Linked DNA regions of Homo sapiens: all the other regions are linked to region 1. The links are contacts of gene promoters, found by promoter capture Hi-C in blood cells and fetal thymus (Javierre and others, 2016). All regions are on one chromosome and are shown on one strand. The core of a region is centred on a gene start or on the middle of the fragment in contact, and the rest is flanking DNA. Distances in the headings are between cores, read along the strand shown. Region 1 holds the start of TMF1 (TATA element modulatory factor 1). Region 2 holds the start of LOC124909391 (a long non-coding RNA gene). Region 3 overlaps SUCLG2-DT (SUCLG2 divergent transcript). Region 4 overlaps SUCLG2-DT (SUCLG2 divergent transcript).

Region 1 (5,677 bases), core at 2,153-4,652:
TTACTTACAACTTTAGACATATTAATAGAATTAATTGCTCTTTTAGTAGAATATTTTAAAATCTCTAAGAAATCAAATATTACTTTGATTAAAGAGGATTGGATTTTGATGTTTTTCTAGACCGTAATACTCTGTAGTTTGTTTACATGTGTATTATCCTTTCTGTTGAGTTTTTTTTGCTTGTATTAATAATATTTTTTCTGTTTTAGAATTGGGGCTTGTTGATGGACAAGAACTGGCGGTTGCTGATGTCACCACCCCACAGACTGTACTATTCAAACTTCATTTTACTTCTTAAGGAAAATCTCCACATAATAGAAAACTCATGGAAATAATATACTTTGTGGATGCTAAGAAGTTGAATCGATGTCATTTTTAGCAATAGTGTTGCCACGATTTGTCTTTTTTTATATAATGAACCACTCTTTTTTAACTTTGTAACCTTCCCTTGAAGACAGAATTTTGGTGTTGGTGCTTGTAAGCATTTTCATTAATAATATGAGAAATGATACCTGGAGAGAGAGATTATGAGCAAATGTATTGCTTCTTTTAGAGGAGGAAGCATACAACCTCTTTTGTGTGAATTTTGTTATTATGGTCAAAGAATGCATTCCTAAGTTTTCATTTGAGTACCCAAATACACAAAAGGTGTCCCTTTAAGGAAAATAAAGAATTAAGTTTTAAATAACATTACATTTTACAATCTGACATCTGGAGTATATTGAACATAGGCTATTTCTTGATATAACACTCATTTAATTGTGGCCATCCAAATGAATATTATTGCAGAATTTATCTTGTTCATAATGATTTGTAAATGGTGTTATAGCTGAATACCTGTGCATGAAAATGGGCAATATTTTCATCTGTTTACTTGTAGTGCCATAGAGGCCAATATGCACAATATTAACTAATGCCAAGACATGGCTGTTTAAAAAATTTAATGTTCAAACAGTTATCACTGATGCTTTTGCACTATTTATTAATAAAATCATATATTGTGTACTTCTTTCACTGAAGTTTTTAAAAGTACATTAAGGGTAATCAGTAGTTCCATGGTAATATAGGAATAATTTTTAAATGTGTAGCAGAGTTATATCAAATTTTTATTGCACTTAATACTTTTGCTACAGCAATTTCTATAGTAAAAATTTACTGGTTTAATTTAACTTTCTGTATCAATATAATTTTTTTTTTTTTTTTTTTTGCGACAGAGTTTCGCTCTTGTTGCCCAGGCTGGAGTGCGATGATGCAACCTCAGCTCACTGCAACCTCTGCCTCCCCGGTTCAGGCAATTCTCCTGCCTCAGCCTCCGGAGTAACTGGGATTACAGGCGCCTGCCACCATGCACGGCTAATTTTTTGTATTTTTAGTAGGGACGGGGTTTCACCACGTTGGCCAGGCTGGTCTCAAACTCCTGACCTCAGGTGATCCACCCCCCCCCGCCCCCCTCGGCTTCCCAAAGTGCTGGGATTACAGGCATGAGCCACCATGCCTGACCATGTTTTTGTTTCTTTTAAGTGAATAAAACTTCAAACAAAATTAAGTACAAATACTAAAAAAGTAGGTGCTAGTATTTTAATATGAGAACATGTATGTGTTCTCATTCTTTGTTTTTGACTTAGATATGGCAGTTTTCTGTTCAAATGTTTTTTGGTTACTTATGTGTCACTGAGTTAAGTTTTCAGTAATCTTTCTAGCTACATATTGACAAATAAGTTTTATTATAAAACCATACGGAATAAATTTATAAGCTCTACCTGAAAAGTTACAGGTGTAGCTTACAATTTTGAAAGTGAAGGAACTAAAATTTAGCACCATATAGGTGCTATAATAATTCTCAAAGTAGCATTGTAAGAAGGTGACTCTATCTGAGAGCTGAATAAATAGTTTTAGATGGTTTAGGTAGGTCATTTCACCAAAGCTGTACAATTAGAAGTCTTGGAACTGTAACTGTACAGCTAATTTCAACCCGAATCTGCCCCAAATCTCCTCTGCAGACTACTTAGCTGTTTGAAAGTACTTGAGTTACTTGGTACTACTTGTGTACATGACTAAATTGTTAGTTTTAACATGCAAGTTTTTACTGTAGTTAGATAAAATTATTGGAAGATGATTATAACTTCTTAAGGGGTTCAATCTGATTTTTTAAAAGAAAAATAATTCTTTTTTGCAGAGTTCCTTGCAGTGGGGTAAAATATTCAAATATGGGAGGCAGGCATATAAGGTAAATAATCACAGCAGGGAGGGTGTAATAGGATGAGTGATAGGGGTCTGTGGCAAACTGGAGTGAGTGAAAATTATTTGGTGACCACTCTGGCTGACTATTCCCATGCTTGGTATTCATATTTTTCAAAAGCAGCTGGAAATCTAGATTTTTGAATGAAATCTGGCTTTTAGTTAGGATTTTGTCTTTAACTTGGGCCCAAACCAAATATAGCTGCAGACTGGATTAGGAAGGCCACCAATTTAAGGTATTTTCCCATGTCCAAATGTTCGAAGAGAATGCACACAGAAAAGGTTATGTTTTAAGTAATATGCACAGTGCACATTGTTAGGATAACAGCTTTAGTGCTTCCTAGGTGTCTTAGTCCATTTGGACTGCTGTAACAAATTGCCATAAACTGGGTGGCTTATAAGCAGTAGCAATTTGTTTCTTAACAGTTCTAGAGGCTGAGAAGTCCAAGATAAGGAGCCGGCAGATTTGGTGTCTGGTGAGGGCTGCTATTCTGGCTTAGAGTTGGTGCCTTCTTGCCGTGAGCTCCCTTGGGCCTCTCTTATAAGGGCACTAACCCCATTTATGAGGGCTCCATCATCATCTAATCATCTCCTAAAGGCTCCCCTTAATACTGTCCCATTGGAGATTAGGTTTCAACATAGGAATTTGTGCAGGGGACACCGACAGACCACAGTATTAGGGGTATTTTGACTGCAGCAATGAGTTTACTACTATTTTGAGAGAGAGGTTGTGCTTTATGCACCATGTGTTCCACGAGTTGGACACAGTGTTCATACGTGATCCTGTCTTTTAGGCAAGCCCAAACAAGTGTTTCTCCTTACAATACCAAGTTAATACAGAGCTTATTAAATATTTGAGACAAAGGGCTAAGAGAAGTGTGAGGCCCAATTTCCCTTTGCAATTATTGCTGGCAAGGTGCAAGCTTTTAGCACGTGAACTATTTTCCTGGAAAGCACACACACGAAAACTTGAATATTCCTTCCGGGGAAATCGACCTCTATCGGTAGCCATAGCTTCCCCTTCGCTAAGAACTGCTGTAAGCACGAAATCGACATCAATAGAAACCCTTCCGCGTTCCTCGGTAACTAACGGCAACCCTGCGCTCCCGGATGTGACGTCAACGTTCTTCTGTTCTTCCGTCTGTCGACCGAACTCTGGGCTCGTAGATTTGGTTGCTGTGTACGTGGAAGAAGCAAGCGCATGCGCACATGGGCCCCCTTCGTCTCAGCTGTGCGGGAACGGCCGAGGGTAACATCCCGGGCTCGCGGGAGGCTGTCGGGGTAATGGCCACACGCTGACAGAACCAGCCGAGTGGAAAAGGGGAGCGAAGCCGTTCCTCTGCACCCTTCCCCAGGCCTGAGGCCTTCCCGCTTGGTGCTGCCGCCGCCACTGCCGGCTGAGGAGGGGCGATGAGTTGGTTCAACGCCTCCCAGCTCTCCAGCTTCGCTAAGCAGGCCCTGTCCCAGGCCCAGAAGTCTATTGACAGGGTTCTGGACATCCAGGAAGAGGAGCCGAGCATCTGGGCCGAGACCATTCCGTATGGAGAGCCGGGTAAGAGAGAGAGGAGCGGGGTTCCTGGCTCCCGGAGGCTGCTGTTCTCTTGATGCAGGCAGGTTAAGTGGTGTAGAGAGGGGTCCTTCCTTGCTGAGAGAGTTTTCAGGAAGTAATTTCTCCCCGGCCCGTTCCCTAATGCTGCTTCAGCCTCCAAGTCGGTCTTTGCTGTTTTCCTGAGGGAAAACCCAGATCCAGGTTCCCCCTTGTCTTTCTTTGGTCCTGGGTGCGAGGCTTGTGGACTTGGATGACAGGGGACTTGGTTGGTTGGTCTTGCCCTCAAGCTCTCCCTCGACGCAGCTTCCAAGCACAACCTTCCCGAACCTGAACCTCGAATTGCTTCGCGTCTCGGGCACTGTTGGGATCCAAGGTCTGAAGTACGTAAATCATCAGGGAAGGGAAGAACAATCGCTAACAGTCAGTGAACATTTCGCGCTTGGTAGCGCGTAATGTGGTTTTATGTTGTTGTTGAGACGGAGTCTCACTCCGTCGCCCAGGCTGGAGTGCAGTGGCGCGATCTCGGCTCACTGCAACCTCCGCCTCCCAGGTTCTAGCGATTCTCCTTCCCCAGCCTCCCTAGTAGCTGGGATTACAGGCGCCCACCACCACGCCCGGCAACTTTTTGTATTTTTAGTAGGGACGGGGTTTCACTATGTTGGCCAGGCTGGTGGAACTCCTGACTTAAGGCGATCCACCCACCTCGGCCTCCTAAAGTGCTGGGATTACAGGCACGAGCCTGTAATGTGCTTTTTTATGGCCTTCTCATCTTCAGAACAACTCCCAGAGAGAGCTTGGTTTATATCCGTGTTTTACATAAGAGGAAAATGAGGCCCAGAATGGCCAAGTAACTTGCTCTAGGTCACACGGCGGAGGAGGATTAGAATGTGCCGGAGGTATTAGCCGGAAAATGTGTGACCCAAGATTTCTGGATGGTATCACATTTTATTTCTGAATAGCCAAGTCTCTCTTTGCAGTTTCATTGAGCTTAATCTTTCAGGGATCTTCATTCAGTTGCTTTTGACTCTTAAGTCTAAGGAACAGTTCAGCATTTGATGTGTGGGGTAAAGATTTGCTGGTGTTGGGGGATGTGAACCTTTGTGTGAAAAAGGATAAGAGATGTACTTGACTACTCCTTTCTGGTTTCTGTTCTTAATTTTACATCATTGAAAAGTCAGGACCTAAATTTGAGGTACCTCAGTTTAAGATATTTTGGTCCATGTGTGTATGTGATGATCCTCTTTACTTTTTACAAGATGTCATATAACCTTGCTGGAGTAACTCTGTTTTTTCATATGTGCCCCAGTTAATTAGAATTACTAAACTTTAGATAAGATAGAATATAGGTTTTACATATAAGGATATTTGTTTTCGGAAAATGCCCATAGTCTTCAGAATGGTATAATTTAGATGGATACCAAATAACCCTGGGATTATATAAAGTATTCTCCAAGAGGCAAAATTAATTCCTGTCATCTTTTGAATGTATTTAAATTAATCAGACATAATCTTGGTTGTTCATTTGCATATTTAATTTTGATTTTCTCTGGTTTGGATATTGTGCAAATGAATGTGTAGAACTATGCCTCCAAACTGAAGTTTTCTACATACTTTTCATCCTAACTGCCTTTGAAGTCATACATATATTTACATATATATATATTTGTTTTTTTGTTTTTTTTTTTTTTGAGACACAGTCTCACTCTGTCATCCAGGCTGGAGTGCAGTGGTGCCATCTCTGTTCACTGCAGATTCTGTCTCCTGAGCTCAAGTGATTCTCGTGCCTCAACCTCCCGAGTAGCTGGGATTGCAGGTTTGCGTCACCACACCTGCCTAATTTTTGTAATTTTAGTAGAGACAGGGTTTTACCATGTTGGCCAGGCTGGTCTT
Region 2 (5,677 bases), core at 1,404-3,903, 2.0 Mb after region 1:
TCAAACTTCCAGGGATGAAAACTACAGTGTCTGAGATGCAAAATACACTGGATAGGAAAACAACTATAGCTTAGATATTGCAGAACGAAAGGTTAGTTAACTTGAAGTCATAGCAAATAGAAATTGTCCAAAATAAATCATAGAGAGATAAACAGCTCTAAAGATTAAAAAGGATATCAGTGAACTATGGGGAACTTCAAGCAGTCAAATATATGTGTAAATTATGCCTTAAAAAGGAGAGGATAGAAAGGAAACGGAAAATAAAATTTGAAAAGGTACCGAGTGCCACAATAGAGAGGTGTGGACAAAATAGCTGCCTCTGAGGCAAACTTTGGCCCATGAAAAGGCAAAAGATGAGCAGGAACCATTGGAAATGTCCTTATCTATTCCTCATTCTACTCTGGAATACCTGTGTTCTGTACAGGTTTTCAAGGGAGAGGCCACTTGGGTGAGTGACTTTGCATCTCACAAAGCAGCAGATGGCTGAATGCTGCATCACCTATATCTGCTTTCCATCTGTCTTAGTTTATTTGTGCTGCTGTCACAAAATACCACAGACTGGATAATTTACATACAACATAAATTTATTTCTCATGGTTCTGGAGGCTGGGAGGTCCAAGATCACGGTGCCAGCAGGTTTGGTGTCTGGTAAGAGCTTCGTCTCCCTTTCCAAGATGGCGCTTTCTTGCTGCATCCTTCAGAGAAAAGGAACACTATGTCCTCACGTGCTGGAAGGGATGGGAGGGCAAAAGAGAGCTCCCTTCAACATTGAGTCCTTTTATAAGGATGCTAATTCCAGTCACTAGGGCAGAGTCCTCATGACTTCCAAAGTTCATATCTCTTAAAACTATTGCATTGGTGATTAAGTTTCAATATGAATTTTGGAAGGGACACAAACATTCAAACCATTGCACCATCCTCTGACTCACACCATCTTGGGATTACACTTTCCTATAAAGCATTAGCATTTCTATGTTACCTCACCTTTGGTTTTAGCAAAACCCCAACTAAAACAGTACAGTGCAGGAAAGAAAAATACTTGGACTTGATGGAAGAAGGTTGAGGTAATTTTCCTCTGATTACTTCTAGTTTTTTTTCTCTGAAGATGATGATGAGATAAGGAAATGAAGCCTTGACAAGAGTGGAGAATATTTTACTTAAGTGCTGTAAAAAATAAGCAAAAGAGACTATATAAAACTGAAAATAGTATTATTAGAGAAAAAGAACAAGCCATTTGAGGTCAGTGACCACAATCATATATTAGCCTTAGTTTGCACAGTTGTATTCAGCACTTCCCAGAAGTCTGCATATGAAAAAGGTAGATTCTGGGATTTGTCCAAATATAGATGGAATTTGGTCAGTCAAGTGCAAGAAAAGGTTAAGAGGTCAAGGGAGTTCAGAATATTTGTAAGACAGTGATTGAAGAGAAGCAAATTCTAAGCTGAGCAGTGAAAAGTGAAATAAATTAAGACAGAGGAGCCTGGGAGGGAAACCAGAAAGGACTGTAGTCCTGAGTGTAGGCAAAGGCTGATTTCTTGGAAAGAATAGAGAGAATTGAAAGAAAAGAAGGTTGTGATCTGGGAACGCAGTGTCTAAATTGACAATATCAGGACTGAGTAAATTTCACTGACAGATGTAAAAATGTGATTATCAATGGGTGGCTAAAGTGGTGTGAAGAGAGTGACTCCAAAAGTCATTGGCAATGTAAAATAAAACTGGTTTGTAAAGCAAAAAACAGAAAATTAGAGCCAACTCTAGAATATTTTATCTCTTTTATGTTCTTTAACTAGGTTGCTTATTTTTGGACTAAATATCAACTGCCTTTCTTTACTAATTTGCCTTCCCCATATCAAAAATACTAGCTTGAGTTCAGAAGAACAAAAGTATATTTAAGTAAATAGAAGGTGAAATGTGTGGAAAAAAGGACAGAGGAAGAAATACTTCCGTTGGCAGGGTCAAAAGGGACAGGCAAAAGCCCAGTAAAGTTGAATGAGTCACTCACCTTGCCTCACTTTTTAAAGGTTTCACTTTCCTTGTATGTATAAAATAAAAATACTACTACTTATCTCATTAAGTTGTTTTAAAGATTACGTTGAGCAATTAAAATTATCTAATGCTTGACATATGAACTTATATAAACCTACAAATACACATGTGTTTAAACTAGGTTCTATTAGTATAGTCTTATATTAATGTGAGTTTTTAATGATAGAGTATAAATGCTTATAAACTGTTATTTGTATTACTGAGGTGCAAAAGGAATAATCTTTTAAAGCAAAACATGCACAATAAAACTCTGCTTTCTGTTGGACTGTCATAAGATATGTGATACCTAATTTGGAATAAGATGTGTCAGATGTCACTGTTAAATATTTCTTAGATTGTTTTATTTGGCAGCCCATTTCCATAAGTAACATCAGCCAGTTTGAACCTCATATTTTTTAGAGTCTTGTGTGGTACATAATTAATTCCCAGAGATTCTGTCCCTGGAGACCTGTTTGAAAAATAAAATAAAATGTAAATGATGTTATTTAAATGAAAAGCCCATAGGTTAAAGCTTTCATTTCTAGTGAAGATAGAATAAATACTCTCAGGCGAAGAATGAGCAATACCCACGCAGAAAGAATAGCAATGGCACGGCGGGAGGGGCCTGAACAAGGGAAGTGAATTCGAATGAACTCTACTGCTCACCTGCATTTCCATCTACTGCTTGGAACGTCTTGAATGGGACACTGGGATGCCAAGCTTCAATTTCTCCACCTTAAAAAAATAACCAACTTGTTGCTACCTATCTCCAAAGCTTTGTAGATTCCCAAATAAAATGGTGCATGTATAACCTGAATTTTACAAGTACACTATCAAAAAGGAGATATCATTCATCAGAGGCAACCTGGCCCCAGTGTTTTTCAGTTACATTTGATCTTTCAGCTGTTTCATGGCAGAACCATCTTCCCCAACCTTTTTATTTTTTTAAATCACTCTGTAAAACATTCTAGTTTACCGGGTGGTTTTCTTTACATTGTAAATCTCATTGTTTGCTGTTAACAGGAGTCTTTTTTTTTCTTCCAAAGTAAAGACAAAATACCTATTAAATGCAAAAATAGAACTTCTTTCATAGGGTAGGAAGTGGATTTGACATGAAATGAGCATCTAACCTGGCACATTTAATTGCAGTACTGAAGACCCAGAGATTTACTTGAAAATAAGCCAAGTACATTTAAAACTCTTATTACCCAGCAACGGGCAGTTCGGGGTTACATGCATATTAATCAGCAGAGACTGCTGGGGATCCAGGTGTGCAGGTGTTTTCCCTATATAAATGTGCATGTAAAAATGATTTGCATATTTAATTTCTCATAGCAACTTATTGAGTCAGCCAGTAGTCAGGTACTTTCCTGAAAATCTCAACTGAGAGTTTTCATTTCTTTAGGTCCATAGAAAACACAAAAAGAGGAAAGCAGCTTCAAACTGGAAAGCAATCCTTGGTTTCCTTGAAAGACTCCATAGGCCTTAATTCCTTAAAAATGTGTGTGCTGCAAAACATTGATTCCATGAATATAAATTCAGGAAAACTAAACAGAGGACTTATGTAAACTGTGGATAAAATATGAACATGAAACTAGAGGTAAAAGTGGTGGCATGAGATTCTTGGCTCCAACAGTTTTACATAGTCTCACTGAACATGGATGGACCAAGAAATTGTGTATAGGATTTCGCTGAAGACTACAGTGCACCATCAGATGATCATATCCATTCAAAAGCTGTAAGATTGAATAAGTAATTTGAAAGATGGCAGCTAATGGATTCTTAATCACTCTGGTTGTTTTGGGCTCTGGAAAGCATTCTTCTTATTCGGTTACAACATGTGTGTGTGTGTGTGTGTGTGTGTGTGTGTGTGTGTGTAATGGCCAATGAGATTATTGATTTTTCTCTTAGAAAGGTGAAAAAGTCAACTTATTTGGGGAAACAAGTCAGACTCTTGTCTATCAAGCCATCTACTCCACAGTTTGATCTTGAAAAATCTTAGTGATTTGGCTGTGCAGTGATACATTTTGATACTGGAGATAATAATGTGTTGTGGAGAATCTGGTCTTGGGGATATCACATGAAATAAAAAAAAAATAAAACTCTACTGCCCAAGCAGAAACAGAGGAGAAGTTACTTAATGGATACGATGTGTGTTATTCTGTTGATGGATACACTAAAAGCCCTGACTTCACCACTATGCAATATATCCATGTAACAAAATTATCCTTGTAACCCATAACTGTATACAAATAAAATTTTAAATAAAAATAAAGCCATTGAGCATTATTCCATCATCTGTGTGCTAGGTGTGTGTGCACAAAGTAGATTCATGGCTTGCATCTTACCGCATTCATCCATCTTAGCATATGCATGAGAATATGAGCAGGTGCCCTTCCATGTTACAAATTACTGGGATTATACTATCACCCAATGCTGTCACAAAGGAATCCAGCAAGAGTTTTTATCTCATTTCTACTGAGATGTTATATGTCATTAATGTTTTATTAATAAGCTTCTGGATAGAATATGATATTTGTCTTTTTGTCAATGAGAAAAGCTACAAATATAATGGCATATTCTCAAAGTTTCATAACAGACAGCATGGTGAAAACTAAGAAAATATTTAGATGATCTTTTTTTTATTTCACATGACACTCTTTCAACTGCCATGTAAAATCTTCATGTTGAAGATTCACTTGTCTCTACCTAAACAGATTCAAATCTTACATTCACCTCAAAGTGCTATTTATTGCATCATCAGTGTAATTCTGAAATCACACTTATGTAGTTATTGTATTGGCACTTTAAAGTAGCAATCTAGAAAGAGATGCCATGCCAAAAAAAAAAAAAAAAAAAAACCAAAGTATCAATGAGCCACTCATGAGCCGTAGAACCATTATTAAAAATTGCAATTATAACATAGTATAACTGTAGCAAATAAAAGTGGGAAATTAACTAATGAAAATGGCAATAAGAAAATGATGTGAAAACACATTAGTGAAATGATCTGCACCCTGTTAACTAAAAGTTACTGAGAACTAATCAGGCTTCTGTAGCCCAGACCTCAGAACATATGGGAAGGAGGATTTTATAATATTTCTATAACATTCATATCCTATATTTCAAAATCACTGAATATGTTTAAGCACAAAACACTTTTGCTTATTATTTTTATTATTTGTGGTATTATTTTTATTTCTGAGATAACTAAATTTCTGATAAGGCCCTCAATAAACCACCTGGGCCCCCATAAATCCCACTTGCAGAACTCTCACTCCAAGGAATTGATATCTTTTTCTCTTTGCAACTAAGGAGACTAGATCCAGTTAATTAGTCAAGCTACTTCCCCAAGGTCACACAGCTAATTAATTGCAGCTGACAATACATCCAGCATCCTCATCTCCTGACTGCCATTACGCCACACCTTGATTGAATCTTGCAGTCCACCCAAATCAGTGGTTTTCAAACATTAGTGAGCACCAGCATCACCTAGAAGTCTTGTTACAATATAGAGTAGTAGATTCCACCTGAGTTTCTGATTTAGTAGATAGAGCTAAAAATCTGCATTTCTAGCTATTATTAAAACATCAAGAAATAACAGATGCTGGCAAGGTGTGGAGAAACGGGAACACTTATACATTGTCGGTGG
Region 3 (5,677 bases), core at 1,221-3,720, 1.4 Mb after region 1:
GCAGGCTGGAGATGAAGAAGGAGTTCAGAGCAGGTGTGAATGCCCCTAGGAGCATCCTTCAACCAAAAAGGCATGAGAGTTGGTGAATAAACATGATCAGTTCCGTGCTCCTCAATGAAACAATTATACAGTGTTTTCCATAAGTCTCTCGAAGGTTTCCAAAAAAACAAACAAACAAACAAACAGAAACCTCAAGTGCCTACAGCATATCAATGTAGTCTTTTACTAGTATTCACCTTCTCCATCTCACCTCCTCAATCCCTCTCCTGCTGTCTAGGATCACCTCTTAAATAATCTCTTTGTATCCAAATCCTTGTTTTAACAACTGCTGTGGGAGAAACCCACTTTAGAAAATGGAATGATGATGCAGAGACTGTACATCAGAATTAGATAGCCCATGTTGACCAGTATGATAGCCACTAGCCATGTGTGGCTATTCAAACTTAAGTATAAATTAAATAAAATCAAATGAAATTAAAAATTGATTTCTTCAGTTGCACCAGCCATACTTCAAATGTTCAATAGCCACATAGCATGATAATGTACAGCACAGATATAGAACATTTTCCTCATTGCAGGAAGTTCTATTGGACAATTCTGGCCTAGAATCAATTCCAGATTGGTTGGAATTGGCCTTCTCCTATTCTTTACATCAGGCCACTTACTCTCTGCTTTAAGACTCAGTTTGTACGTCTGCAAAATAAGTCGGTAGTGAGGATTAAGATAATTTCTGTAAAGCATTTAGAAAGCACCTAAGTGTTCAATAAAAGCAGGGAGAAGGAGAGAGTGAGATGGAGTTCTATGGTGTCCAAGGACTCTGAGGAACTGTACATAAAAACCACTAGTGTAGTGCATCACACAGGGCAGGTTATTTCCCTTCATGGGCCTCCACTTCCTTTCTCACTGGGGACTACTGGCAGATTTCCAGACACTCATGAATCTTTGCATCTTCTTATTAGGGAGATTTTTGCACCAGCTTCATCTTTATTTATTTACCCATCCAGTCAATAGCAGTTGGGCACCTCCTGTCTTCCAGGCACTGTACTGTGGGCAGAATAATAACACTGCAAGAACACGGTCCCTGTCATTGCAGATTTTAAAATCCTGAAGGATGAAGCAGACAAGTAGCAAATGCAGTAACAAACCTCTAATAACCACTGAGATACCCCTAGCTCCCGCTTCAGGGAAGCTTCCTGAAGGGGGTGACTGAAACTCAAAGGATGAGAGAAACTCATGCTGGTGAACAACAGGGAAGGGTGTTTCAGATAGAGGGAAGAGCATAGAGGCATCTTTTGGAGCCTCAGTCCATACTTCTTGCTGGCATGTAGTAAATTAGGTTTTAGAGGGGCTGGGGAAAGTTTGAAGAGGATGGTAGAAGTAGGGGAAGAAAGGGAAGAGAAAATGTGAAAGGTGGGAATGGGATAGCTGCTGATATTCCCTCTAGCTATGCCAAAGTGCTACCTTTGATGCACTGCAACCTCTGCCTCCTGGATTCAAGTGATTCTCCTGCCCCTGCCTCCCAAGTAGCTGGGATTACAGGTGCCTGCCACCATGCCTGGCTAATTTTTGTATTTTCAGTAGAGACGGGATTTCACCATGTTGGCCAGGCAGGTCTTGAACTCCTGACCTCAAGTGATCTGCCAGTGACGGCCTCCCAAAGTGCTGGGATTACAGGCTTGAGCCACCGCGCCCGGCTGATGTTGGTGTTTCTCCAACCATGAAGCATGAACCACCTACAACAAAGACAGTGGAGTAGGGGCATTATTTATAAGAATGCAGATCCTCAAGCCCCAAGACAGACCTACTGAATCAGAACTTCTGGAGAGGATGGCCCAAAGGAATTCTGTTACACACCTAAGCTAAGAACCATGGCCTGTGGCTGGGCACAGTGGCTCTTGCCTGTAATCCCATAGCTTTGGGAGGCTGAGGAGGGAGAATAGCTTGAGTCCAGGAGTTTAAGACCAGCCTGGGCAACATAGTGAGCCCATCTGTATAAAAATATATATTTTTTAATTAGCCGGGTGTGGTGGCACATATATATAGTCCCAGCTACTCTGGAAGCTGAGGTGGGAGGATTGCATGAGCCCAAGAATTCAAAGCTGCAGTGAGCTATGATCATGCCACTGCACTCCAGCCTGGGTGACAGAGCAAGACTCAATCTCAAAAAATAAAAAAGAGAAGAAGAAAAAGAACCACTGCTGTGGCTGCTCACTTTATAATGAGGCAGGACATTTGTAAAAGAATGTTCCTTTAATTTTTACTTTACTGTTTAAAAGAAGCTATCTTAATAATATTGAAGGTGCTGAACTCCGCAGGTTCCAATTGCAATAAGAATTTAGGTTTTGTTTCTAACTTCTTTTCCACAGTCAATCTAATGCTACTTTTCTCTTTCGGTTCAAGAACCTCCACAGTCCTTTGTGTAAATGTTCTTTCCTCAGCTTTTACCATCTTCTTCATCCAGCTCCAAACTTCCTGCCAAAAGAATGTCATCACCCTTGTTTCCACCATTTCATCTTGTTCTCTGTTTTTAGTCTCTTCCACTGACCTTGTCTCCAGCTGGGCCTTCCCTAAGTTAATGATGTTCCTTACTCTTCCTCCTTTCTTATCTTAACTTTGAGCTGTCACCACTGCTCTAAACTTGCTTCCTGTGAATTCTCTCCAGGATGCAGTGAGAATTTCTCTTGAGCACACTTCAGTGTTGGCAAAGGAGACAGTTTTTGTCATAAATCCCTTTTCTTCTAGGCACCTTACATAGTCGTCCCTCACTGTCCATGGAGGACTGATTCCAGGAATTCCCATGGATAATAAAATTCATGGATGCTCAAATCTCTGATATAAAATGACATAATATTTCCATATAACCTATGCACATCTTCCTGTATACTTTAAGTCATTTTTAGATTACTTGTAATACCAAATACAATGTAAATGCTATGAAAATAGTTGCTACACTGTATTTTTTACTTGTATCATTTTTTATTATTGTTATTTTTTATTTTTTCCCCAGAATATTTTCAATCTGCAGTTGGTTGAATCATAGATGTGGAACCCACAGATACAGAGGACCGTCATTTAAATAAAGCTGCTGAGAAATACCATCAAAATTAATCATTTTAACGCATTATTGAAGAGGGAAAAATAACTTGAGCACAATGACCATTCTTTCTGTGCCACTGGCAAACAATACAACTGAATCACTGGTTAAAATGGCTATCACAAATAGCAACAGTGATATTACCTATGCATACAATGAAAGACCAAAAAGTTTAGTCTCCTGTAAATTCCAGAAATCTGTTATCCATTAAAAAATTAACCAGATGAAATCCACAGATGCCCTTTATTTCATCATTGTAATAGTGATTTTCATTCTTGACATGCAGCAGTATGAACTCAAATATGTAATTCATGAAAATTAGGGTTGTTTCTTAAAATATTCTATTCAGCTCTGCTGGTTACAATTAGTATTTGTCAAACAGTTTTTATGCTCAAGTGAAAAGGTAATGATAAAACACCACCAGAACTGCTAGATGCAGTATCCCTTTGCTGGGTTTCATGATATGTCTCTCTGGTAAATCTGCGCCCCTAGAGTAATCAGTGCGAATATGAAAATGAGCACATTATTTCACTGTTAACAGGCACTGCTAAGATGAAAGCGAAGGCATATAGGCCTGCTGATGTTTTTATTTTTCTTTTTGCAACAATTAACTGAATAAGAAACAGTATAGCCAAGGTGCTAGAAATACAAAGCTTAATCGTAGAGTTTTACAACTTCATATTTCAAATGCATGCAGTTTATGAGAAGTGTTACACTGTCAACTCACAGCTCAAATAAGATGTCATACTTGACCTTCATTTTACTAATAGGAAAACTGAGGTTCACAGATGTAAATACTAAAGAAATAAACACACGAAAAAGAGTTCTTAGTCAAATAATGAAGGTATGGTAGGTAACAGCCACTGGGATCTCAAGTGTTTGAGGATGCATCTCATTGGCAAAATAGGTACTATCATAATCCCCTTTCCACAGATCAAGGAATTGAGATTGTTAAGTAACTGGTCCAGGGTCATGGAGCTTTTAAATCACAGAGTCAACACTTGCAATGTCTACCTCTGTGCTTCAGTCTGATATCAGAGTGCAGAATGCTTTCAATAGTGCTATTGCCTATGGCCATAGTTACTGTTCAAGCAGTTCACAATTGCCATTTTGACACAGCAAAAGCGTAGAATAGCTGTTCATTCACCTTAAGCCAATGCTTCTACATGTCGCAGCCGATTTAGACCACGGGTAGAAAATGGGTCTGGTACCAGGTGTCAAGGCTCTCTGAAAGCACCAGTCATCATCTCCATCTATGATTTATCAACTTTTTGTCCTATATTTAGGAACCAAATGGGGGATAGCAGAGTAACTCGTCTTTGGATTCACCAGGAAACATCTTCAGAGTTCACCACTATGGTTTGCTTTGTTTGCTTTTTTAGTTCTCAAACTAAAGAACACTTTGGAAAGATTATTTAAAATGCAGGTCCCAGTCTCCATCCTAAGTGATTCTGATTTCATGAGTATGAGGTGGAGACCAGGAATCTGAATATTTGAAACTCTAAAACAAAATGTAATGGTTCCTTGACCACTACTCTCTATCCTCTTCTTGGAGGCAACCACTTTAGACTCTTAATACTTTTGTCTGGCATTTGTACATCTCTGTAATTCTCCAGTGCTATCAAGATAAATTACAAAGTGTCAGGGGTCTCCTAACCTACATCTCAGATTGGCCCTAGTGTTTCACATTTGATATCAAGCAAATATTTGTTATGGACCCACTAGAGGAAGAAAAAGAACATCTATGAAGTCTTTACTATGTGCAAGGTCTTTACATGCAACATCTGATCATTGACTACTTACTACTACCCTATGAACCAGGTATTTTCCTAGTCACAGGTGTTCAAGGGGGTGGAGGTCAGATTTGAATCCAATCCAGTTTGGCTGAAAACTTAATGCTTGTTCCAGGAAAGCACAGTGCAGAACTCTGGTAGAATCTAGATTCCCTGTTCTCAAAGAGATTCCTATTTGGGGGAGGTTGGAGGGTGGAAGCGGGGAGTATGAAATAGGGAGAAATCTTACGAGGAACTCTATAATGCAATTCATTCCACATATGTTTATTGATTACTTTTTCTAATCAAAGTCCAGTGCTAGACACTGGAGGTGCTACATAAATGGTTCTCTTTCTTCCTTCTGTCCCTTCTCCCCTACCACCTTCCTGCAGAGAAGGCAGAATGAGATAATACGAGTAAAGACACTGAGGAATTGCTGATGAAAGATTTGGACCCCAGAACCAAGGATGAGACAGTCTTCCAATTCAGACAGGAAAACTCTTAGGAGGCTGCTAACCCTGGAAAGACCCCAAGTTACGCACCAGTAGATAGTAAACAAATCAAAGAATACCAAATGTACTTGGATGACAATCAGAAAGCCTCTCCCGACTCCACTTTCAAAAATCCCCCCATAATAGAATAATCGCATCTTAAAAGAACACTCATCAATCAAAGACAGTCTTAAGAGTCTCTCCTTTATCTCTATAAAACTAACACTTCTTTCAAACGACTTCTAGTCTCATTTGGAAGGAAAGTGATAGTAGCCAACTCCCTTAGCATAGTAACGTCTGAATAAACAGCCTTTGATTAA
Region 4 (5,677 bases), core at 2,111-4,610, 1.4 Mb after region 1:
AAGTAATGGCAAAAACCGCAATTACTTTTGCATCAACCTAATAGTAAGTGACTTACCTCTCTGATCGTCAGATTTTTATTCATAAAATGAGGGGATCATAAACCTAACACTAAGGGTTGTTATGAACACTGCATGCAATTATAAAGAAGTTCCTGACACACGGTAACAGCTCAAAAAAGTGATGGCTATTGTTCTTCAGTCACTGAACAATTTTTCAGCATCTATTATGTACTAGGTTTTGGAAAATCAGAGACAAAAATATCTGACTTGAAAAAGTTCATTGTCTAATGCAACAAATATTTTCTGTAAGAGCATACATCATTACATAGACCTAGAATATATGCTCTATATAATAATAGTAATGTGTTTCTCATACAGGTTCACATAGCTTAGCGTTTCTCAATTTCAGCATGGTTGACGCTTAGGGATGGATAATTCTTGCTTGTGGGGGCTGTCCTGTGTGTTGTACAATGTTTATACACATCTCTGGCCTCTACCTATGAGATACCAGTAGCATTCACCAGTTGAGATAACCAACAACATCTAGTCATTGCCAAATATCTCTCCTTGGTTGAGAACTACTGGCATAGGCTGATGGAGATACTGCCTAAAAATCAGCCAGTATGGCTAAGGTTTTATTTAGTTACGAAAACCTGACTCCACATCCCCCAGTTTGGTGACATAACCACTTATCACTACAGCATCATCTGAATCTTGCCTCTACTCTATGTTCTGACACCCTCTTTCCTAATCCAGACCCCCTCTCTCTCTCATCAGAGCCACTGCCCAACTTGAACTGGTCTCAGGGCCTCTTTTCTCTTCCCACTCATTATACACATGGCAAGTAGATTGATCTCAAAACACAGCTCTGATCATAACACTCTCCTCTTCAAAAACCTACCCTTGTTCAGGGAAGGAATTTGCTAGTGCTTCATTGGCAGTGATAGAGAAATCAGTTTGTCTTGCTTTGCTTGGAACTTCCCCAGCTTTAGCATTTTAGGTTTGAAAGACTGAGAGAGCCGTGGCAAATAGGGGTAATTGGTCACTCACAGCAGTGAATTCAGTTTATTTCCAGATAATTTTTCTGTAGAACTCCAGAATGTACATAAGAGACACGAATCTTGGGCCTTAGACCCAGGTTGGTAAAATTTGTCATATATCTGTATTTGTATTTTTAAAATAACAGCTTAATTTCTGATTGTTCCTCTTTTTTTTTTTTTTTTTTTTTTTTAGGAGGGAAGAAAATCTCAGTCTAATTCGTGACCTCTCCCACATTCCCAGGGTTGAACCATGGTGCTGGGATCCTCAGCTGAGCCGAAAGTCTCAACAATAGACAGGCTTTCCTGGTTTCTCAGTGATGTGTGGGACCAAGGAATTAGCATCGATTACCCCCACACTCTTCCTGCCCACCTGGCCCTTCCAGTGCACAGGGTCTCTGCTGCTTCCATGCTGTGTCTGTTCATGGACAGCCATTGTCCTAAGGCTTTACTACCTCCCAGGCAGCCCCAGGATTCAGGCACTTCTAAACTTCCCTTTGGTCTCTCCAACCCCTCCACAATGTGGAGGGATACCTCTAATCTTGGGGGACGGGGAGAGGAAATCATATGCTCCCCTTTACTTCTTTAGCACATTTTGGTATGTATACCTGTAAGTTTTAGTCTTCTTACTTTTCTATTATCTTCTTCACCCAATTCCTCCAAAATTTCATCAAGGGGTCATAAATAGGTGGCCCTGGGGCTGACTACAGCGCACAGACAGGCATTGTGTGGCTTGCACAGTGTTTGGTTTTGTTGTTTAAGTTAGATTTGAATCCTTTAAAGAAGAAAAGTGGCTCTTCAGTTTACTACAGACCTCATCATCTCCTGGTTCTCTTGCACCCAGTCCACTTCACCTGTTTACGTTCCCTGTCTCATCCTTCTAGGTAATTTGAGTTTCCAACCTGTGGCCTTCACTATGGAAAAACAAAACAGGCCATGACTGTATACAGCATATTCTTATTTGAGCTGAAGGAAATACACAGAGGAAACATAATATAGATTCATATCTGTGACTCTATAGATAACAACTTCATGTCTCAAAATACTATGTTAGCCACACATGAAAAGATAGCAGCAAAGGTGCCACAGTGATGTGTGGGCAGGAGGTGCAGAGCACTAACACCTGGCCTCCTGAGTTTCAAAACCACAAGTCTGCTGGATGAATACAAATCTGTACAATAGCATTTCAGACTGCTTGTCATAAGGCAATTATCTCCTTTTTTAGTTCTCTCTTTCTCAGCCTCAACAATCAAACTATGTAACTTGCCCTTGCCTTCATCTGCCCTGCTCACTTTGCCCTGAATGATTTAGTTCATTATCTTCCCTCTATCCCTGAATGTCCTTCCTACTGATATCTATAGTCAGAAGCTTAATTATCCTTCAAGTAGGAACTCAAACTCTATCTTCTTATGCTTTTACAAAAGGTTCTTGTCTTCTTTTCAGGCTTATCCTCCTTTACCAGCCCATTAGCCATAGCAATTCCTCAGGAATCTTAGGGCCTCTCTTTTGATCCCCCTCCTTGGATAATCTCATTCATGATCATAGGTTCAATTATTATCTTTATGCAGATGGAGCGTGCACACACACACACACACACACACACACACACACATATATATGTATGTATGTATGTATGTATATATATATATATGCTCAGCCTGGGAGAGACCACATATTTAATACATATTTAATTTTAACAGTTTTTTTTTTTTGGTTGTTGTTGTTGTTCTGAGACAGGGTCTTGTTCTGTCACACAGGCTGAAGTGAAGTGGTGTGAACACAGCTTACTGCATCCTCAAACTGCTAGGCTCAATCAACCCTTCTGCCTCAGCCTCCAGTGTAGCTAGGATGACAGGTATGCATGCTCAGCTAACTTTTTTATTTTTTGTAGACACAGGGTCTCACTTTGTTGCCCAGGCAGATCTCAACAGCTCCTTTTTTTTTTGGATGTTTCAAAAGCATCTCAAGTTCAGCATGACTTAACTAATGATCTTTCTCCACTTAACTGAGATCCTTTCTCAGGAATGGCCACTGTGAATCAACCATTCTATTAACATGTCAGAAACCTAGATGTTGTTTAGGATGTGCCCTTCTTTCTTACCACCCATATCTAAAACATCACAAATGTGATGTTTTGTAAGGGGAAGATGGCCCAATAAGACCCACTCAAAGATGGTGTATCCAACTCTTGTGTTTATCATTGTAAATTGTGGGCACTTTGATTTCCTTCTTTTAGTGTTTTTGGAAGGAATCGTTCATCAATTCTGGGACATTGATAGCGTGAATTTCATAATCGGTAAGGATGAGAAGGGAAGTGCCTTGGCTGTGATAATTCCCCAGGATAAATATCACAATGTGAGGACCTATCTGAGTAGCCCACTCATGACTCCAGGTGCCTACCACTCTCTGTCACTGTGAACCCAGCTGTATTAGTCTAGGTTCTCCAGAGAAATAGAACCAATAAGAGATACAACTATAGATATAGATTTACTATAAGGAATTGGCTTGCATGATTACGGAGACTGAAAATTCAAAGATCTGCAATAGGCAAGTTGGAGACCCAAGACCAAAAGCAACAGGAGACTGATGTTCCAGTTTGAAAACAGACAGAGAAGGAGAATTTTTTCTGCTGCAGCCTTTTATTTTATTAGGCCTTCTCAACAGATTTGATGAAGCCTGCCCACACTAATGAGGGCAATCTGCTTTACTCAGTCCACCAATTCAAATGTCAGTATCATCTAGAAATACCCTCACAGATACACCAAGAAATAATATTTCACCAAATATCTGGGCACCTCGTAGCCCAGTCAAGTGGACACATAAAATTAACCATCACTCTCACTAAACATTGCTAACTCATCAACTAAACCTTCACTACCATCCCACTCAACCTCACCTCACCTCACTACCAACCATCAAGTCAACCTCACCTCACTAACTCATCAACTTCAACCTTCATCCCACATGGAAACCAGGTTCACCAAAGGGACATGCATCCCTTCTCTGAATCACGAGCTCCAACCATTCCTGGTAGCAGAGGCTGTGTCTAACCATCAGTCTTTCTCTGAAGGAGAAAAGAATGCCATAAAAACACAGCATTTCCCAAAGTTGATTCTATGGAACACCAGTCCCATAAGATACTCTGGGGAAAAAAAGAAAGATTTCTTGAAAACAAAATGTTATATCCCCATATGAGTTTTCTATGCTGCATAACATATCACCACAAACTTAGCAGCTTAAAGCAACCATTTTTTATCTAGGTCAGGAGTCCAAGCTTGGCTTGGCTGGGTCCTCTGCTCAGAGTCTAACAGGGGTGAAATCATGGTGTTAGCTATGTTCTTTCCTGGAATTCAGGGTCCTCCTTCAAGCTCATATGGTAGAATTCAGCTCCTGGTAGAGGCTGAACTGAGGCCCCCAGCAGAGAGAGATGTACTCTCTCCACAGGCAGTCGCACTTAGCTGTCTGTTCTTCAAGGTCAGTGCGAAGAGCCCAGTCCCTCTTATTTAGTCAGGCCCACACAGGAGATTCTCCTTTTTGACTAATGTAAAGTCAACTGATTTGTGATCCTTCACTTTTGCTACATCATATCGCCTACTCACAGGAGTGCTATCCCATCAGTTTCACAAATCCCACCCTCACTCAGTGGAAGATCAGATAGGACAGGTAGGCTAGGGGGTTAGAATCCTAGGAGCCTGCCATAACTCAGATTTAGTTTGTGAATTAGCATATTATGGGCTCTGAGAAATCCTATAGTAAAGAAATACGGTTAACTTTGTTCCACCTATTGTTAACCAAATTCATTTGGCCCATATAAAAACGTAATTTTCACATAGCACCAATTATCATCTTTGTAGTTACTGGTTTGTGTCATCCATGTTTTGGGATATGCTGAAACAGAAAAGGCCTGCACTGTGAAGTTAGACTGTCCATGATTAAAATTCCCACACCGGACCAGGTGCGGTAGCTCATAACTGTAATCCCAGCACTTTGGGAGGCTGAGGCAGATTGTTTGAGCTCAGAAGTTCAAGACCAGCCTGGGCAACATGGCAAAACCCTGTCTCTACTAAAAATACACATGCATAAAAAAATCATAAAGAAAAAAATTTTTTTAATTTTTTAAAGGAAAAAAAATCCCCACTGTGACACTTCCAAGTGACTTCAACTTGGGCAAATTTCTTGACCTCGCATAACCTTGATAAAATGGATGTGGACTATCAGCACTCCACTTCTCAAGCTGTTACCACAATGCAATGGAAGTAATTAACACCTTGGAATATGCTTGGCACAGGTTAGAGGTCCAAAAAGATTTTTTAAAACATTTTGGCTCCCTTCTTTCCCATTTTTCACATGAAATTTTATAAACAATTACAAAAATGATACTCTATTAATGTTAGAGTGTTATAAGCTTCCTAGATAACAGACTTGAAGCTTCATAACATCCTTAAGCTAAAAAAATTACTTAAATTTAAGAGGTAGGTTGGGCATGTTGGCTCATACCTATAATCCCATCACTTTGGGAGGCCGCGACAGGTGGATTACCTGAGATCAGGAGTTCGAGACCAGCCTGGCCAACATGGCAAAACCCTGTCTCTACTAAAAATACAAAAAAAAATTAGCTGGGTGTAGTGATGCACACCTGT

The links. Contacts are between HindIII fragments. The CHiCAGO score rates a contact against its expected background, and 5 or more counts as called.
Region 2: a contact is called between a fragment that was not itself captured here and the fragment with the promoter of TMF1 in region 1, in 1 of 17 cell types (total B cells). The highest score is 5.4, in total B cells.
Region 3: a contact is called between a fragment that was not itself captured here and the fragment with the promoter of TMF1 in region 1, in 5 of 17 cell types (total CD8 T cells, naive CD8 T cells, non-activated CD4 T cells and 2 more). The highest score is 10.7, in total CD8 T cells.
Region 4: a contact is called between a fragment that was not itself captured here and the fragment with the promoter of TMF1 in region 1, in 1 of 17 cell types (naive CD8 T cells). The highest score is 5.9, in naive CD8 T cells.

Annotation. Positions count from the first base shown.
Region 1 is chr3:69,050,058-69,055,734 of GRCh38, reverse strand. TMF1 (TATA element modulatory factor 1) reads left to right here and starts at 3,402. Exons shown (of 17, transcript NM_007114.3): 1 at 3,402-3,790. The coding sequence starts at 3,649. It overlaps UBA3 (ubiquitin like modifier activating enzyme 3), which reads left to right. Exons shown (of 18, transcript NM_003968.4): 18 at 210-1,005. The coding sequence ends at 298. RefSeq lists an enhancer at 3,341-3,810. The HindIII fragment of the contact is 2,649 bases long and covers 3,164-5,677 here.
Region 2 is chr3:67,073,119-67,078,795 of GRCh38, reverse strand. LOC124909391 (a long non-coding RNA gene) reads right to left here and starts at 2,762. Exons shown (of 2, transcript XR_007095954.1): 1 at 2,692-2,762; 2 at 567-728. The HindIII fragment of the contact is 188 bases long and covers 2,560-2,747 here.
Region 3 is chr3:67,658,136-67,663,812 of GRCh38, reverse strand. All of the region lies in intron 1 of SUCLG2-DT (SUCLG2 divergent transcript), which reads right to left. Among named protein-coding and RNA genes, the nearest start is that of SUCLG2-DT, 6.3 kb to the right of the region's middle. The HindIII fragment of the contact is 2,558 bases long and covers 1,192-3,749 here.
Region 4 is chr3:67,675,348-67,681,024 of GRCh38, reverse strand. The region is part of intron 3 of SUCLG2-DT (SUCLG2 divergent transcript); the gene reads right to left. Among named protein-coding and RNA genes, the nearest start is that of SUCLG2-DT, 23 kb to the right of the region's middle. RefSeq lists a silencer at 2,111-2,270. The HindIII fragment of the contact is 1,906 bases long and covers 2,408-4,313 here.